Linked DNA regions of Homo sapiens: all the other regions are linked to region 1. The links are contacts of gene promoters, found by promoter capture Hi-C in blood cells and fetal thymus (Javierre and others, 2016). All regions are on one chromosome and are shown on one strand. Each heading gives the region's core, a stretch centred on a gene start or on the middle of the fragment in contact. The rest is flanking DNA. Distances are from core to core; before and after follow the strand shown.

Region 1 (2,776 bases), core at 117-2,616:
TATAAACATGGAACCACTAAAACAAAATGCATTAGAAATTTAACCATTACTATCTTTACATCCTGATTTCATAGGTAATTACAATTTTTGTATCTTCGTATTTCTGTAATTTCTGAATGCTTCACAGTGATACGGTTCTATTAGAATGTGAAATATTTGTAATAAATGAAACAAAATAGTTGACAGTTTTTAAAAACTGAGAAAACTCCAAGGCAATTAGCCTTGCTCTTAAGGTCCTTTAATCAAGTTCTAACTTACTTTCCCCACCTGAGTACAGCTAGTTCCTCTGCCTCAATGAGAATATATCCAAGAGATGATCAACTCGGGCTCTGACCCTGAATGCCTAGGTTCCAACCCAAGTTTCACCTCTTACTACTTGGATGACCAGTACCTCTCCACAGAGTCACGTTGCGGCTTAAACGTATCTAATTGTATAAATCCCCTAGAATTGAAGTTAGCAATTAAGGCTTAATTATTATAAATGCCCATGCCCTATTACACATGCTACAAAGATACAGTCTCTGTAAAAGAAAAATGACAAGTCACACTCACGTGGAGCTTTGCTTTCAGTAGCCAAGAAGTCAGTCCGCGCAGTCCTTTTTCAGGCTGGGGAAGGAGAAAGCTGTGAAACATCCTGACTGGGTCGCTGTCCCTGAGAAAAGTTAAATGCTCCCCTCCCTTCGTGGAAGTGGACGCAACCCTCGCCTGCCTAAAAAGAGGTCAGAAGGCGTCCGGGATCGTCCAGCGTCCTGCAGGGATCAGAGATAAGGGCTGAGGCCCCTGCTGCTGGAGCTCTGACCCCACCGGGGGACCTAACAGGTTTCGTGGGAAAGTAACAAGAAACCACCACTCACCAAGTGACAGGGACTGTTTGTGTTGTGTAACCTATTCCAGTTACCAAAACGATTCTACAAAGATGGTCCTAACGTCCCCATTTTAAAGAACAGCAAGGAGAGGCCCAGGGAGATTAACACGCCAACCTTGCACTGTAAAAAAGTGACTGCGCGCCTGGAGTGCAGGGAGGCGGAGTGGGCGAGCTCAGAGCCCCGGAAACCCTCAAACCAGGCGAGACGCGACCCAACCAAGTCCCAATGCCCCCCGCCTCCCGCCGCGGGACACGAGGGGAGCCCCAGCCCAAGAAGGCTCCGCTGACACAACAAAAGCCGCCGCCCTCGCCCCACCAAACCTCTGCTCTCCCACGAGGCTTCTTTTCCCATAACCGGACCACCAGGTCCCAGCGAGCCCCAATCTTAAGTCCCTGACATTAGGAGGGGCCCGCGAGTCGCGGAACTGGAAGAAACTACCGTGGAATGTGCCGTGACAATCGCCCCCTCTTCCCTGGAGCGGAAGTGCCCGCGACTCCACTGATTGGCGGGACTACATTTCCCAGAATTCCCCGGATCCCCCTGCGTGGGTCAAATGGACCACGACTCCACTGAGCGTTTGGATTACACTCAGAATGCTGAGGGAAAAACGTTCAGAATCTCACCCTTCAGGGAAAAGCGATGGGACTCCGCGGTGCTCCTTGCCTACGATTCCCGCACTGCCCATGGGGAACGAATCCTATATCGCTGAGCGCTTGGTAGGGAATGTGGACTGTGACCCTGAGAGTCGTCCTTCCCTCTGCCTGAGTCCTTGAGCGAAAATATTGAATAGACAGCAATTCCTGAAGTCTAAACGCCTCCCAGGACTACGGAGGATTATTGGAAAGAGAACAAGCGAGGAGATACAATCTTCAAGGACTAAATGGGGAATGACTTTTTAGGGGTCAGTAGATGATTGATGATTGATTACTATAAACTGATAATATGAGGCCAAAACTAAAAGTTGGAAGAGTGAGCAAGTACAATGGTTTGGGAGAGGCAATGAAGAACAAAGAAGGTGCCAGCCCCTACTCCAGACGCTGTGGTACCACTGGTTTGGCAGGAAAAACAATCATCATTTGAGAGGGCCAGTGGGGAAGCCCTGTCCTCATGGAAAAGCTATCTTCTTTCGTTTACACTTTTCATGGTATTATGTCTACTGAAGAGGTAAAAACACCAAATTTCAGAGAAGCTCTTAAATTGCCCAATACTTCAAAGCAAGTATAACTGGTGAAGCGCTTGGCATTGATGTCAGACACCCAATGCCTATGATTTATTTAATGCAGTAGCATTAAGGAGGATCCTATACGTGAAGGAACATATTTTATTTTCTTCCTTTATATTTTTTGGTTAAAATATCGTCATTATAGTTAGCAATTTGGAATCTGGCTTACATTGGTTGATACAAATAAATAATAGAATAAAGCAAAATCAGAAAAAAACCCATCTAAAATCTTTCTTCAAGATAACCAGGGGCTGGGTGCGGTGGCTCACGCCTGTAATCCCAGCACTTTGGGAAGGCCAAGGCGGGCGGACCATGAGGTCAAGAGTTCGAGACCAGCCAGGAGAACATGGTGAAAACCCATATCTACTAAGAATACAAAAATTAGCCGGGCATGGTGGTGCGTGCCTGTAATTCCAGCTACTCGGGAGACTGAGGTAGGAGAATCGCTTGAACCTGAGAGGCAGAGGTTGCAGTGAGCCGAGATCATGCCACTGCACTCCAGCCTGGGCGACAGAGCAAGACTCTGTCACGGAAAAAAAAAAAAAAAAAAAGATAACCAGATTTTTTTCTCCCCATAAACATACATTGGCCTATTGATATGGTTTAGATCTGTGTCCCCACCCAAATCTCATGTTGAAATGTAATCCCCAGTGTTGGAGTTGGGGCCTGGTGGGAGGCGATTGGATCA
Region 2 (2,776 bases), core at 47-2,546, 9.4 Mb before region 1:
CGTCTCTACTAAAAATACAAAAATTAGCTGGGCATGGTGGCGTGCGCCTGTGGTCCCAGCTACTTGGGAGGCTGAGGCAGGAGAATCGCTTGAACCTGGGAACCGAGATCGCACCACTGCACTCCAGCCCTGGGCGACAGAGCAAGACTCTGTCTCAAAAAAAAAAAAAACAAAGAAAGAAAATAGGGCACACTTGTCCCCAGACCACAGTTAAAATCAATCAGAAATAAGAGGGCACAGGCATGTGAGTTTTTCAGAGAAATGCTGGAAAACTCTAGGAACTGGGGTTCTGAAACATGGAGCTGCCCCTCTCACCACCTCCCCGCCTCCCATGTCAGGTACCTCTTTCTTCCCCAAAAGGAATTCTATTCTTGAGGTTACTTCCTCTTGTCGTCCAGGTAGTGTGCACGGAGAGCACTTCTGGCTCCAAAACTGCCATCTCGTGACTTGTGAAGCCTTCTTCTTGGTCATTTTCACAATAGCGTAGAGCCTCTCACGTCACTTTGGGACCACTGCTCCCTAGCAGGTACCACATGGCTGGAAGGCCAAGGCACAGGAAGCAACGGAGACACTAGAAAGACAGGTGACATGGTCGCACACACCTGTGCTCACTCAAAAGGCCATGCACCCAGGCCCGATCCCGACCAGTCACAGCCGCACACTCGCTGGCCCTTTCACACCCACAGACGCTCACACCAGAGGGACACTGCCTGTCCCTGTCAACCTGACAGAAGTGCAAAGGCACATTTCAGAGACACGGAGACCCGTCCTGGCCGTGCCACCTCTGCAGACCCCACCAGCATTGACCTCGCACAGAACGGAGGTGCAGAGACACAGCCCGGCTGCGTCACCCCTACAGATGCCCTTACAGCCCGGCGCTATGGCCCTCATAGACGTCTACACACACCTGTGTCACAGTTTATGGGGACAGAGCCCGGCCGCGTCAACCCCGCATGCATCACGGCTTAGGGGAACGGGGCTTGTTCGCATTACCCCACAGACGAAGACAATTATCTCAGTCACTGGGCCACGGCGGGGCCCCACCAGGCAGCCTCTGGCTTATTCACACACACACACACACACACACACACACACTCACACACACTCCCACTTCCCTGCTCGCCGCTCCCGAAGCCTCAGGCCGAAGCTTCTTCATTTTAGGGCCTCCGCGTCCCGAGTGGCTCCCTCACCGCCATTCCCCGCGGAACCCTGCCCTGGCTTCCTCCTGGGAGGCAAATAGCTCCCGGCTCGAGGCCTAACCACACCCAGCACATCAGGAGGTGAAACAAGGTCTCAGGCGCAGTTGGGATAAGATCCAGGAGAAACCATTTTTAAAAATCCCGCGAGCATGAAGCACGCCCCTCAGCCGGCCACCCGGCTCGCTCCTCATTGGACTGTGCCCCAAGGCCCTCTGGGAAATGTAATGCGAAACCAGAGAAGCTTCGACGCAGCTGGAAGGGCGCCCGTCAGTGTTTCCCAGCATGCAACTCTACACGGCGCAAATGGAGCCGTGACCCAGAGGCCTCTGGGAAATGTAGTCCATAACCCGGAAATCCACAGAGTTGGAAGCGGCTGTCAGGATTTCCCAGCATGCAACTCTACGCGACCCTAAGGGCGTCCTGCCTTGAGGGCTTCTGGGAAATGTAGCTCATAACCCGGGAATCGACGTATCTGGAAGGGCGCCCATCAGTGTTTCCCTGCAGGCAACTGCACACGGCCCTAATGGAGCCATGCCCCAGAGACCTCTGGGAAATGCTCACTACGCGGGAATCCTTAGCGCTGGAAGCGCGGCCGTCAGAATGCTTTTCGTCGGTGTCTCCTCCCACTGTTAGAGCAGCTGCACCCCCCATAGACTTCTGGGAAAGCGTATTTCAGACTGGCAGAATCTTCAAATGCTGGAAGCCCTGTCGGCCTTCTCCTGCCCTGAAACTTTGCTTGCTCCTAAGGCGCACCACAAAAAATTCCTGGGAAAAGTGGTTCAGGCTCTAGGGGCCTACAGTTATAATTGCTTACAACTTGCATTTGGGATCCGTCCATAGGGAAGGCGTGTCCCCGCGTCCTTCTGGGAAGGAAATGTAGTCTGAAACGACCAGAAATCACGCCTGTAATCTCAGCACTTTGGGAGGCCGAGGCGGGTATATCACCTGAGATCAGGAGTTCGAGACCCTCCTGCCCAACATGGTGAAACCCCATCGCTCTAAAAATGCAAAAATTAGCCAGGCGTGGTGGTGTGTGCCTGTAATCCCAGCTACTTGGGAGGCTGAGGGAAGAGAATCGCTTGAACCCAGGAGGCAGAGGTTGCAGTGAGCCGAGATCACACCACTGCACTCCAGCCTGGGCGATAAGAGTGAAACAATGTCTCAAAATAATAATAATAATAATAATAAGCCCGGAAAGCTTAAAAGCTGTGATTTGGGAAAAGTTCAAAAATTTCCCAGCATGCAACATGGCCCTCCTTAGAAAAGAGCTGTGCCTCCAGAGCGTTCTTGGAAATACAGCCCCGAGCTGGAAATGCCTCTAGAAAGTGTTAGGTAGGGTGTTTACATGTGAGATTTTGGGGACGTTTCAGCACTGCCCTTTCCCCCACCCCCCAGTAGATTGGGGAGCTCCAGGCATGTGTGTAGGGACCTTGAGTAGGTTCCACGGGAGTGACCTGGTCCTGACTGGGTCTGTGCCAAGGCTCTCTCTGTAAGGGCAGGACTTTGCGTTTCGTTCTCTGATGCTGTCCCAGACTTGGGAGCACTGCCTGGCTCTTCAGATGTCTCTGTGAGTGTTA
Region 3 (2,776 bases), core at 178-2,677, 7.7 Mb after region 1:
TGTTTGAGGAGCAGCCCCAGAGGCCAGTGACTGGAGGAGTGAGAGCAGAGGGGTACGTGGGTGGGAGATGAGATCAAAGAGGCAGGAGTGGGAAAGAGTGGGTCAGTTTATGTACTGTCTGCCATACAGGCCATGGGAAATCTTTTCATTCTAAGACAAGAAGTCATCAGAAGGCTGTGCACCTAGAAATGGCTTGATGCAACTCATTATTTTTTTTTTTTTTTTTTTGAGACAGAGTCTCGCTCTGTCGCCCAAGCTGGAGTGCAGTGGCATGATCTCGGCTCACTGCAACCTCCGCTTCCCAGGTTCAAGCGATTCTCCTGCCTCAGCCTCCCGAGTAGTTGGGATTACAGGTGCGTGCCACCATGCCCGGCTAATTTTTTTGTATTTTTTTTTCAGTAGAGACAGGGTTTCACCATGTTAGCCAGGATGATCTCAATCTCCTGACCTTGTGATCCACCTGCCTTGGCCTCCCAAAGTGCTGGGATTACAGGCGTGAGCCACCACACCGGCCATGTTTTTGTTTTTGTTTGAGATGGAGTCTTGCTCTGTCACCCAGGCTGGAGTGCAGTGGCATGATCTTGGCTCACTGCAAGCTCCACCTCCTGGGTTCAAGCGATTCTCGTGCCTCATCCTCCCGAGTAGCTGGGATTACAGGCACCCGCCACCATGCCCAGCTAATTTTTGTATTTTAGTAGAGACAGTGTTTCACCATGTTGGCCAGGCTGGTCTCGAAATCCTGACCTCAGGTGATCCTCCCACCTCGGCCTCCCAACGTGCTGGGATAACAGGTGTGAGCCACTGCGCCTGTCCTTGATGCAACATATATTTTAAAAAGATTTCCCTGGCTGCTTTGTAGGTGGCAAGATTGGAAGCAGAGTGGCTGTTTAGCAGGTTTTTGTAGTAGTCTGGTTGAGATACAGTGATGGCTCAGAGACCATTGAAATGTTATCAGTGGCAGTGGAAGGAAGCGGTGGGTTTGAAATCTTTTCAAGGAAGAGTTAGCAGGATTCAGTCTTGGAGTGTAAGCGGAAAAAAAAGGATTCATGCTTTTTAGGGAGAGCCTGTGGAAGAATGGGCTTTGTAATTACTGAAATGGGGAAAGTAGATTTGGGGCTTGCAAAATCAAGGGTGGGTTTGCTTATGTTAAGCTTCAGGGCTTACTGGACGCAGCATAGATGCCATGCAGGCAGCTCAGTATAGAAGTCTGGAACTGGGAGGTCAGATCAGCATTGGAGGAAAATTTGGAGAGCCTTCAATGTAGAGATATAGAGTCTTGTGACTGGATGAAATCCCCTAGGGAATAAATATAGCAAGGACAGAAACCTGAAGCACCCTGATACCTAGAGGTTTACAGCAGGAGAAGGTATGGCAAGGAAATGTAGGTTGAACAACAGCAGGATAGAAGGTGAACTCAGGAACTCAGGAAGAAAAGTACCAAAAAGATCTGGCCATGAAGATTAGATAGGTATGTAATAGTTTCTACATGCATTTTCTCATATAATTCTGTTTTTTTTTTCTTTTAGTGCAGTTCGAGTACTTATACTTACATAGTTAAGCTGCTTTCTAATCAATGCTTGTTTGTAAAAGTACCATTCTTTATGCATATATGCATTCTTTATGTAAAAGCACACTTTACGCATATAGATTTTTCTGTATTTGCTTAGGATAGATTCTCAGAGACAAGATATTTCTGAAGCTTTCAGACACTCACAGTGTTTGGTAGTATTCATTTCATTGTACTCTTTAAGAATGGTTAATTTTTATTTTAAATAAATGTTTTCGCTCATTTATTTTACAAGTCGTAGAATGTTGCTTTTCATTGTGAAAATTTTCAAAAATACATGCCACTAATCTACCCCTATTGTCGCACAAATATTTTCTTTTTTTTCTTTGTTTTCGAGATGGAGTTTCGCTCTTGTTACCCAGGCTGGAGTGTAAAGGCGTGATCTCGGCTCACTGCAACCTCCACCTCCCGGGTTCAAGCAATTCTCCTGCCTCAGCCTCCCGAGTAGGTGGGATTACAGGCACCCGCCACCATGCCTGGCAAATTTTTTTGTATTTTTCATAGAGATGGGGTTTCACCAGGTTGGCCAGGCTGGTCTCGAACTCCTGACCTCAGGTGATCCACTTGCCTTGGCCTCCCAAATTCTGGGATTGCAGGCGTAAGCCACCGCGTCCCACCACAAATAATTTCAAGTAAATCCAGGACTTCATGTCATTTCACCCTTGCATAATCTCATGTAATTCTAAAAAATACTGATACTTTCTCCCTTATATAACCTTAATGCAAAGTTATATAAATTTTACAGTGATTTCTTTGTATACTGGACTGCTTTATTGTCATTATATTGAATACTTGTAAGAGTGTACATTTTCACCATAGCATGATAATTACCTTGTTCATTTCTATATTTCATACTTTTAATCTATTACTGTGTTGATTTTTTCAGTTTTTATGGACTTTGCAAAATAATAACATTTACCTGTCTATTGGTTCCCAGAGGGTGCTTTTACTTTTTTTTTTGAAACAGGGTCCCACTCTTGCCCAGGCTGGAGGGCAGTGGCACTATCACGGCTCACTGCAGTCTTGACCACTTCCTGGGCTCACGTGATCCCCCCACCTCAGCCTCCTGAGTAGATGGGACTACAGATGCATGCCACCACACCTGGTTAATTTTTTGTATTTTTTGTAGAGACGGGGTTTTGCCACGTTGCCCAGGCTGGTCTGGAACTCCTGGGCTCAAGTGATCCCACCACTCAGGCTCCAGAAGGG
Region 4 (2,776 bases), core at 162-2,661, 7.6 Mb after region 1:
CGTGCTAAAACTACAAGAACTAGACAACTGAAGATGTCGTCTCTTATGGAAGTGCTGAAAGACTAGGATGTGATTTACTAACAACCGACTTCCGTTATTGTGTGTTAAGTTTTTCATCTGTGCATCAAATCCCAAATAATAAATGGAGCTTTTTTCTTTATCGGTCCCTTGGGCACAGGAGGTCCCGAACACCCTTCTCTAGGATGCTGCATTGAGAGTTCAAACATCGGGCCATGCGCAGTGGCTCATGCCTGTAATCCCAGCACTTGGGAGCCCGAGGCGGGTGGATCACCTGAGGTAAGGAGTTTGAGACCAGCCTGGCCAACATGGTGAAACCCCGTCTCTACTAAAAATACAAAAATTAGCTGGGTGTGGTGGCGAGCGCCTGTAATCCCAGCTACTCCGGAGGCTGAGGCAGGAGAATTGTTTGAACACAGGAGGTGGCAGTAAGCCAAGATCGTGCCACTGCACTCTAGCCTGGGCGAAAGAGCAAGACTGTCTCAAGGAAAAAAGAAAAAGAGTTCAAACATCAAATTAAAAAATATTAAGAGGAAAGCTTCATTCTGTGACTCTAGTCCCGTGACTGTAGTCCCTTCATTCTACAGGGGCTGTTTACCTCTTTTTGCTAGTAGCAAGATCATATAACTACAAAATGTGGAGAAACTGTTTGCCTGTGGTAGATACCTGCACACATAGGATTGAAGACAGTACAGGCTCCTGTGAGACACCTCTGTCCTCTCACATCTGTTTTTTTTGTTTTGTTTTGTTTTGAGATGGAGTCTTGCTCTGTCACCCAGGCTGGAGTGCAATGGCGAGATCTGGACTCACTGCAATCTCTGCCTCCCAGGTTCAAGCGATTCTCCTGCCTCAGCCTCCGGAGTACCTAGGATTACAAGTGTACACCACCACGCCCAGCTAATTTTTGTATTTTTGGTAGAGACTAGGTTCCACCATGTTGGTCAGACTGGTCTCGAACTCCTGACCTCAGGTGACTCGCCCGCCTCTGCCTTCCAAAGTGCTGTGATTACAGGAGTGAGCCACTGCGCCCGGCCCCTCACTCACATCTGAATTGCATACTGAGTGGGCAAGTTGGTTATAAGTTCAGTAAAACCCTCTGATGATGCAAAAAAAAGTATTATGTTTCACAAGCTGTTTGTACTCAAATACATTTTCTCAGTTTCAGATCCTTTCCTATTTTATTGAGTGGAAAGTCTTGAACTAAAAGTGTTCAGGAAGAATAATGTTGCATTTCCTTATGTCTCCTGAAACACTTTTTTTTTTTTTTTTTTTTTGAGATGGAGTCTTGCTCTGTCGCCCGGGCTGGAGTGCAGTGGCACGATCTCGGCTCACTGCAGGCCCTGCCTCCCAGGTTCACGCCATTCTCCTGCCTCAGCCTCCCGAGTAGCTGGGACTACAGGCACCCGCCACCATGCCCGGCTAATTTTTTGTATTTTTAGTAGAGATGGGGTTTCACTGTGTTAGCCAGGATGGTCTCGATCTCCTGACCTCGTGATCCACCCGCCTCGGCCTCCCAAAGTGCTGGGATTACAGGCGTAAGCCACTGCACCCGGCCGTCCCGAAACACTTTTAATGGTAAGTTGTCATATTGTCTATGAAGAAACCCATTTTTTTAAGACATTAATAAATTCTTCTTTTCTTCATGTGATACTTTATACAAGAACACTTCAGATGTATTAGATTTGACTGATTTTAAACAAATCCTATTAGATTTGTATCAACTAGTTACATGTTCTATTCATAGACTTTTGTGAATCATTGCCTTTTTGTTTAAAAAGATGGCCTATTTTCCAGGCACAGTGGCTCATGCCTGTAATCCCAGCACTTTGACAGACCGAGGCAGGCAGATCACCTGAGATCGGGAGTTCGAGACCAGCCTGACCAACATGGAGAAATCCCGTCTCTACTAGAAACCCAAAATTAGCCACGCGTGGTAGTGCATGCCTGTAATCCCAGCTACTTGGGAGGCTGAGGCAGGAGAATTGCTTGAACCCAGGAGATGGAGGTTGTGGTGAGCCGAGATCATGCCATTGCACTCCAGCCTGCCTGGGCAACAAGAGCGAAACTCCAACTCAAAAAAAAAAAAAAAAAAGATGGCCTATTTCAAGCCTTTGCATAGTACATTCCTGTTTTTGTGACAAAAGAAAAACTTTAAAATTGCCCCAAACAGAAAAATAATGGCTATATGTTTTATTCTATTTTAACTTTTTTTTTGAGATGGAGTCTTTGCTCTGTCACCCAAGCTTGAATGCAGTGGCATGATCTTGGCTGGCTGCAACCTCTGCCTCCCAAGTTCAAGCAGTTCTCCTGCCTTGGCCTCCCGAGTAGCTGGTATCACAGGTGTGTGCCACCATGCCTAGCTAATTTTTGTATTTTTAGTAGAGACGGGGTTTCACCATGTTGCCCAGGCTAGTCTCAAACTCCTGACCTCAGGTGATCAGCCCACCTCAGCCTCACAAAGTGCTGGGATTATAGGCGTGAGCCACCAGCCTGGCCCAGTTGATAGTTTCAACTATGTAAATCATTACACTGATTCCTACTGATCATTCTCATTGCCAGCATTCCTGAACTTAAATTGGCTCTGGAAATTCTCCAACCATAGTGAATCCTATTTTCTATGACCCCATAAATATTGGGCATTGTTGCGGTATGTTAGAATACGAGCCCGTGGTTGGGAAAGGCAGTATCATATATGCAGTCTTTCTACCTCTATGTGGCCACATAAGAATGACATCTGACCTGCAACATTTCCTTACCA

The links. The method cuts DNA at HindIII sites, captures the fragments that hold promoters and counts their contacts. A CHiCAGO score of 5 or more calls a contact.
Region 2: a fragment that was not itself captured here is called in contact with the fragment with the promoter of ZNF234 in region 1 in 3 of 17 cell types (non-activated CD4 T cells, naive B cells and activated CD4 T cells); the score reaches 11.7 in non-activated CD4 T cells.
Region 3: a fragment that was not itself captured here is called in contact with the fragment with the promoter of ZNF234 in region 1 in 1 of 17 cell types (non-activated CD4 T cells); the score reaches 6.6 in non-activated CD4 T cells.
Region 4: a fragment that was not itself captured here is called in contact with the fragment with the promoter of ZNF234 in region 1 in 4 of 17 cell types (non-activated CD4 T cells, activated CD4 T cells, naive CD4 T cells and 1 more); the score reaches 9.6 in non-activated CD4 T cells.

What each region holds. Positions count from the first base shown.
Region 1 is chr19:44,140,144-44,142,919 of GRCh38, reverse strand. ZNF234 (zinc finger protein 234) reads right to left here and starts at 1,366. Exons shown (of 6, transcript NM_006630.3): 1 at 1,187-1,366; 2 at 553-606. RefSeq lists enhancers at 879-928, 594-1,184, 939-1,338. The HindIII fragment of the contact is 9,485 bases long and covers 1-2,776 here.
Region 2 is chr19:53,519,651-53,522,426 of GRCh38, reverse strand. It overlaps a transcript of ZNF331 not described here. Among named protein-coding and RNA genes, the nearest start is that of ZNF331, 17 kb to the left of the region's middle. RefSeq lists enhancers at 381-1,154, 1,465-1,664, 1,155-1,928, 1,929-2,703. The HindIII fragment of the contact is 293 bases long and covers 1,150-1,442 here.
Region 3 is chr19:36,468,666-36,471,441 of GRCh38, reverse strand. The region is part of intron 4 of ZNF566 (zinc finger protein 566); the gene reads left to right. Among named protein-coding and RNA genes, the nearest start is that of ZNF566, 20 kb to the left of the region's middle. The HindIII fragment of the contact is 548 bases long and covers 1,154-1,701 here.
Region 4 is chr19:36,494,010-36,496,785 of GRCh38, reverse strand. It overlaps the pseudogene CTBP2P7. Among named protein-coding and RNA genes, the nearest start is that of ZNF566-AS1, 5.8 kb to the right of the region's middle. The HindIII fragment of the contact is 1,705 bases long and covers 559-2,263 here.